Linked DNA regions of Homo sapiens: region 2 is linked to region 1. Evidence: promoter capture Hi-C in 16 types of primary human blood cells and fetal thymus (Javierre and others, 2016). All regions are on one chromosome and are shown on one strand. Each heading gives the region's core, a stretch centred on a gene start or on the middle of the fragment in contact. The rest is flanking DNA. Distances are from core to core; before and after follow the strand shown.

The links. Contacts are between HindIII fragments. The CHiCAGO score rates a contact against its expected background, and 5 or more counts as called.
Region 2: a fragment that was not itself captured here is called in contact with the fragment with the promoter of FAM200C in region 1 in 12 of 17 cell types (activated CD4 T cells, total CD4 T cells, M0 macrophages and 9 more); the score reaches 12.1 in activated CD4 T cells.

What each region holds. Positions count from the first base shown.
Region 1 is chr5:160,397,340-160,401,462 of GRCh38, forward strand. FAM200C (family with sequence similarity 200 member C) reads right to left here and starts at 2,715. Exons shown (of 2, transcript NM_022090.5): 1 at 2,300-2,715. RefSeq lists enhancers at 857-1,356, 1,676-2,361, 2,255-2,404. The HindIII fragment of the contact is 7,568 bases long and covers 1-4,123 here.
Region 2 is chr5:163,455,578-163,458,922 of GRCh38, forward strand. It overlaps NUDCD2 (NudC domain containing 2), which reads right to left. Exons shown (of 4, transcript NM_145266.6): 2 at 1,985-2,033; 3 at 1,352-1,503. It also overlaps a transcript of CCNG1 not described here. Among named protein-coding and RNA genes, the nearest start is that of NUDCD2, 2.9 kb to the right of the region's middle. The HindIII fragment of the contact is 252 bases long and covers 1,125-1,376 here.

The DNA of each region.
Region 1 (4,123 bases), core at 1,465-3,964:
CCTCCTATGAAAGTTGAAACCTAAAATGAAAGCCATATCTTTTCTCTTTCTCTCCCTTTAGCAACGAGTAAAGGCATAATCCACAGGTAGGCTCAAATATACCTTAGAAAACATTCTATCTCCAAGATAAGTAAGTGATCCCCAAAGTTTCCAAAGTTCTGTGCCAGAGAATGTGGCTGAAATAAAGTAACAGGTACACATTTAAATCTGAATGCCCACTTTGGACATTAAAAGAAAAATCACAAGCCAAGAATATCCACTTAAAGCATTAGCTTTCAAGTGGATCTACCAAGATGAACTAGTTGTAAAGTGTACTCCAATAAAATAAGCTGAGCTGTTACAAGGTTGTTATGAGCCTGTTAAATTGGAGGATGTCTGCCAATCAAAAAAGACAACCTGAAGTTTAAAGAGCTGATCTTAAGACTTCTTTTGTCAAGTAATGAGACTACATGACCACTTTTGCTTAGAACCACTTCTAATTAATGACGATAAAATTATGACATTACCATAAATGCTTATTTTTCTGTATTCTATTAATGTATATTTATCATGTAATATTTGGGGAGGAAGAGGGAATAAAGGAAAATGTTTTTAGTCACATTAGAAATCATTACAAGAGGGGCCCTGCACGGTGGCTCACGCCTGCTACCCCAGCACTTTGGGAAGCCAAGGCGGGCAGATCACTTGAGGTCAGGAGTTCCAGACCAGCCAGGCCAACATAGTGAAACTCTGTCTCTACTAAAAATACAAAAATTAGCTGGGTGTGGTGGCGCATGCCTGTAGTCCCATCTACTCGGGAGGCTGAGGCAGGAGAATCGCTTGAACCCAGGGGGCAGAGGTTGCTGTGAGCTGAGATCATTGCAGTGAGCTGAGATCACGCCACTGCACTCCAGCCTGGGTGACACAGCCAGACTCTGTCTCAAAAAAAGGCTGGGTACGGTGGCTCATGTCCATAATCCCAGCACTTTGGGAGGCCGAGGAAGGCGGATCACCTGAGGTCAGGAGTTTGAGACTGGCCCTGCCAACTTGGCGAAACCTCGTCTCTACTAAAAATACAAAAATTAGCTGTGCATGGTGATCCCAGCTACTGGAGAGGCTGATGCAGGAGAATCGCTTGATCTGGGAGGCAGAGGTTGCAGTGAGCCGAGATGATGCCACTGCGCTCTCCAGACTGGGTGACGGAGTGAGACTCTGTCTCAAAAACAAAACAAACTGGAAATCATTACAAGATCTGTTAAGAGTCCATTCCTATCCACCTTGACTATGTCTCTCAAGTATATTTTAATTTAAAATTTATCTGTTTTGAACAGTTTTAGGAAAATCAATTTAAAGTATTCTTCTCCATAACCCTCAAAAAGGGAGAACAGGTGGCAAGAATTTTCAAGGGCCTCAAAGATGAACTTACTGCCCAAGAGGCTTGTGTTTTAGAACCTCACAATTTGCACTTGCGCTTTTGTGGTATTTAGGAATTACAATATCCTAAAAAACGTAAACATTAAAAAGCATCATGATAAGGAGATATTGTTAAACAGGCATGATAATGGTATTGTGGTTGTGTTTTTAAAAAGTCCTCATTTGTTAGATACAGACAATTATTTACAAGTGAAATAAGATGTCTGGGATTCCTTTGAAATACGTACTTCAGCACACTCACAAACATGCACAAAGCGGGGTGGAGATAAAAGAAATGACTGGCCTTAAGTTGGTAACTCTTGAAGCTGGATGATGGGTATACATCATTACACCGTTCTATTTTAATGTATTTTGGAAACTTTCCATAATAAAAAGATAAAAAGCATTATCTTAAGATAGATATCACTCATTTTAAGCATGATTCTTTTGAGAGATTATCTTCAGATGCTTAATGAAAGATCTGATATAACAAAGTAAAATGTTTTTGCAAGTTTATGAAGGGTAGATATGAAAAAGTATTACAAATGAGAAAAATCAGTTAAAAGTGAACACTCACAAAACAAATATTTAGGGAATGCTAATATATATATATTCCAGCAGTGAAAACACCAAAGTGCAGCTGTAAACCTAAAACTCCAAACCAAATACAATTCAACTTCTTTCTAGCCACTGCGTATGCAAGATCATGATAGGCGCAGGTGTCTGGGGAGGCAGAGCATTTAACCATTACATTTTACAGTTAAAATCAATAGCCAGGAGAATGGGGGCAGGAACTTGGTGGCTGGGCAGACGCTCCAGGGGCAAACGCCTGGGATCGTGGCTTTGTCACTTACAGGATGGGACCTTTCCAAGCCTCAGTTCCTCCAGAGGGGATAACAGTACCTACCTTACAGGGTTGTTAGGAGATTTAATTATAAGAATGCATGCAAATAACAAGCAGCTCTTAACTGATAGGACCTGATGGTGTTACTGTTAAGGACGGAGATTTTTACAGCCTCCCGGGTGAGATAAGAACGCCAGCTGCTAGGAAAAAAAAAAAAAAGACTCAGCGCGGTCTCCGCCCGCCCGTCTCCAAGCCTGAGGCGCAGGCCTATGGGATGCACGGGCTTCTTTTAGGCGCCCGTTTCAGGCTCCAGTCCCACTCTCCGCTCAGCCTAGGGCCCAGCCTCTGGCCGTCGGAACCAGTAGAGACGGCGGTTCCTCGGGTCCAACCCCCGGGCAGGAATCTGCGGTGCGCCTGGAGAGAGAAGCATCCGCAACAACCTCCGCCTCAGCCAGGCCCGGGTTCCATCCGGGTTCTCCAGGGTGCTTCCCGCCCGCAAACTGGGAGAGGCGTCTCCCACACGCAGGCGCAGTAGCAAAGGGCTGTGGGATGGGCTGGCTGGCTTGAGTATTGAGCATGCGCGCTAGCCCTTCCCAATTTTTTTTTTAAGATTGTGTACGTGGAACAAGAAATCGTTTGTTTATTGTGTCTGCCAGAGAGGATGAACTGTACAATTTCAGGAATGGAAGGGGCTGTAAACTCCACATAGTTCTTTTTAACATGCAGAGCACTTAAACTTTTATATTGTGTCGGGCTTTGAGCTTGGAGATAAAACGCCTGATAATTGCCATGTTCCATGTGGAATAAATGAGAGAAAAAGAGAAGGAAGCTCATTGTAATTTCAGATTAGACATTTCAGCAGTGGAGGATGAGCTTCCATAGCTTGTGTACTGTTGCCTATGCAAGCTGATCCCACTTTCCGTAAGTGGGAGCATAGGGATGAATTTCCATGTCATCATCATATATCTGAAATATTTTTATTTTAAATTCTTTCAACAACATGATTTCAAAGAAATAAACCCATATTAGAGAGGTTTTAGAGAAAAATCCCAAGTAGAAACTAGGAAACGTTGTTGAAAGAAACCGGAATATAGCCCTTTCCTGTTTGGGGGTCTTTCCAGAATTCTTATAAACTTAATGAGTTTACTCATTTTTGTACAATCTTGTTAGAAGCATTCCATAAGACTAGTGTGTGTGAGGAGTGGTGGGGCGTCAACGAATGTGGGCCAGATACATCATTTTCAGGTGTTAAGGGTGAGCCTGGTAAATATTGACGGGCTGCTGAAGTTTTTTGTGGATGGAAGAAACTGCTAAAGACCAGCCTTGTTGGTCAAGAAATTAGGGCCTTCAATACTAGAGAAAGGGGTAGGCTTCAGAATCCCACAGCTAGCTTCATGTCCTGACTCCAACGGTTAGGATTTGTGCAGGTTACTTGGAGTTAATTCCATGTGCTTTTTGTAAAACTTACATATCATCCATTACCCCATGAAATTCTTTTGAGGAAGGAGATAACATTATGACAATTACAGTACATAATTCTCGCACTCAAAAGGCAGCTATTATTGAGATAATAAAATCAAAGCTCAATCTGAGTAATGTCCTAGGCATTATGTTTTTTTCTTTTTTTTTTTTTTTTTTTTTTGAGACAGGGTCTCATTCTGTTGCCCAGGCTGGAGAGCAGTGGCGCAATCTCAGCTCACTGTAACTTCTTGAACCGGGTTCAAGCAATTCTCATGCCTCAGCCTCCTGAGTAGCTGGGATTATAGGCGTGTGCCACCATGCCCAGCTAATTTTCGTATTTTTCATAGAGACAGGGCTCTGCTATGTTGGCCAGGCTGGCTAGGCATTACTTTTCCAAAATAAAACAGAAGACATGATTCTGGATAT
Region 2 (3,345 bases), core at 1-2,500, 3.1 Mb after region 1:
ACGGTGAAACCCCACCTCTACTAAAAATACAAAAAAATTAGCCGTGCGTGGTGGCGGGAGCCTACAGTCCCAGCTACTCGGGAGGCTGAGGCAGGAGACTGGCGGGAATCCGGGAGGCGGAGCTTGCAGTCAGCAGAGATCGCACCACTCCATCTCAGAAAAAAAAAAAAAAAAAGAACTGCTCTAACTGCTATTTTGAGAAGACTATGGCAAGAGTAAAAGTGAGAAGACCAATTAGAACGTTATTAGAGTAATCAGGCAAGACATTAGAGGTGGTCCAGATCAGAATGGTGGTAGAGTTGGTGGTGAAAAGTGGCCAAATTCTAAATATATTTCGAAGGTAGCATCAGTAAGATTTCCTAATACATTGGATAGGGTATGAGAAAGATGTAAGAATCAAAGATGAGTCCCAATTTTTTTTGACCTGAACTACTAGTTTTCATCAACTGAGATGAAAAGGCTACAGGTAAAAACAAATATGGAAGGATGTTAGGGTGTTCAACTTGGACATGTTGAGCTTAATATACATTAGATAGCCAGGTGGAGATGTTGAATAGGCAACCGGGTATGCAGGTCCTAAATTCAGAAAAAAAGTCTAGGCTAGAGATATACATCTGGAAATCATTATCATAAAGACGTACATTATCAAGTGCTGCAATCTAGCAATTCCTCTCCTAGATATTTATCTTAAAGATATCTTAGAACACTTGAGTAGTTTCACAGAGATGAAAGCACAGCTTTCTTTAAAATAGAGAAAAATGAAGAAATCTAAATCATATCAAAGGCAAACAGCCAAATAATGATGACACATCCAAACTACAGAATCCTCTGAAGCAGTTAAAAAGAATGAGTTTTATACCTATGTATTAGTAGGGAAAGAGACCCACAGCATATTATTAAATAAAAAAGCAACAAGAAGAACAATACACACAGTGTGATCCTCCATTTATGCTAAAAAACAAAACAAAACAAGCAATAGCCAACATATGAGATGAAAATGAGATAGATGCATGGAATGGGGAGAATGGTGGTGAAGGGGCCTTTCACTTTTTACACTAGGTAAGTCTATATTGATTCAACTATAGTAAGAGTTTATTCATGCATTACTGATGTACATAAAAGTAAGCTTAAACTCACAAATCACAGCAATACAAATAAATTCCTCTCAAGAAAATCTTCCGAAAAATCAAATCCATACAAGAAAGGCCATTTTTCTAACAATTCACTTTAAAAATTCTTCTAGAAAATGTTTGTAACTTTTCATAATGACATTTGAGTTTTAATTTCAAATATTTATTTGATGATTTTTATATATTTAATTACACATACTCATACACTTCATCTGACTTACTTCTTTTTGGAATCTCTCTAATGTAAGCTTTCTCTGCATTTGGTCTTGCACCCAAGGATCCGCTGCATATTCAGATTCTAGTAGAGAAGTCCAACAATTTGCTGCATCTCTCTTTGTCTTTGTAAGAACAATACGAACCATTTTTCTGTCCTCTAAAAAAAAAACACACACACACACACGCACAAATAAATTAGAGTTCTTCATCAAGTTGTTTTTTTTTTTTTTGAGACAGTATCACTCTCACCCAGGCTGGAGTGCAGCGGCTTGATCTCGGCTCACTGAAACCTCCGCCCCCCGGGTTCAAGTGATTCTCCTGCCTCAGCCTCCCGACTAGCTGGGAATACAGGCATGCGCCACCATGCCCGGCTAACTTTTGTATTTTTAGTATAAACGGGGTTTTGCCATGTTGGCCAGGGTGGTCTCAAGAAGTTCTTCATTAAATTTTATATTTCCAAAAACAACTAACTAATTTTTTCTCCCCCCACTAGGTAACTTTGACATACAACGGTTTTCAACACATTTCTATTGCTTTATCTTTCAAAGCTGCAAAGACAAAAAAGACCTAATACAAAAGAGGAAAAGATATCAAGACAAAATTATTTTAATTTGATGAATTATAGTAATTACCCTTACCCAAAGTCCATGTTCCCTCATCAGCTATTGTAGAATCAAAGAGTTTGCCCTGAAAAATAAACATATAAGGTGCTAAAAATACAGAATTTAATTTTTATAAAGTTTTCATGATTAAGATTTACCTACTTTCCTACCTAATCCACATCTTATACCACCACTTCACCATGACATTTATAGGTGCACAACCCTAAATTTTCTCCCAGCAGGTAAAATGGAAACTAGTTTACACTGCAAGGGATATTTACTATGGCAAAGAACACAGAGCTCTCTAAAGAAAGATCAGGGCTCCTTAATTTTTAGAAGATACAGTAATACTGACCACTGGCCAAATGTGAAATTAATATCTGAAATGCTTTAATTCTACCAATTTAAATTAACCACAAGAAGGGATCTCCTGCTAAAACTAAAAAATGTTGTCTTTTTTTTTTTTTTTTTTTTTTTTTTTGAGACAGAGTTTCGCTCTGTCGCCCAGGCTGCAGTGGCACGATCTGGCTCACTGCAACCTCCACCTCCAGGGTTCAAGCGATTCTCCTGCCTCAACCTCCCAAGTAGCTAGGACTACAGGCGCCCGCCACCACGCCCGGCTAATTTTTGTATTTTTAGTAGAGATGGGGTTTCCCCGTGTTAGCCAGGCTGGTCTCGAACTCCTGACCTTGTGATCCGCCCGCCTAGGCCTTCCAAAGTGCCAGGATTACAGGCATGAGCTACCGCACCCGGCAAAATGTTGTTTTTAAAGTAAACTTTTAAAAACGTTTTAATCTTTTTGTTGGGCAATCGGCATTAAAAAAACTTTACGTATTCCAGATTTGATAGATTAGTTGTGACTAACTGTTCACAAACTCATGTTTTTTAAAAAAATAAACAAAATATAAATTTAAAAGAGACTGCACCAGGCCCAGTAGCTCAGGCCTGTAATCCCAGGACTTTGGAGGCCAACGTGGATTGCTTGACCCCATGGGTTTGAGGCTGCTGTGAGCTACAATCTCACCCCTGCACCCCAGCATGGGAGACAGGGACCCTGTCTCAATAAATATATATTTTTTTTTAAAGAGAGAATGCCTAAACTCAAATCCATTTTAATTTGTTGCCAAATTTAAGTTATAGAAAGTGAAATTAAATGTCACTAGGAAAAGCCCACATTTTAAAATATGTCAAAATTAGTGAGAAAAAAATCCCACTGGTCTATACGTACATCAGAAATCCCAAATTCAGCAGCTACTGCTAAATTCCGAAAGTTACTGGATTTACTAATTTATAATCGTAATCTAAAACCATTGTTGAGGAAACTATGAATTGTACAATTCAGAAAAGTAACTGAGATCCAAGCTGACATAATGTCTTTCACACGAATCTTGAGGCAC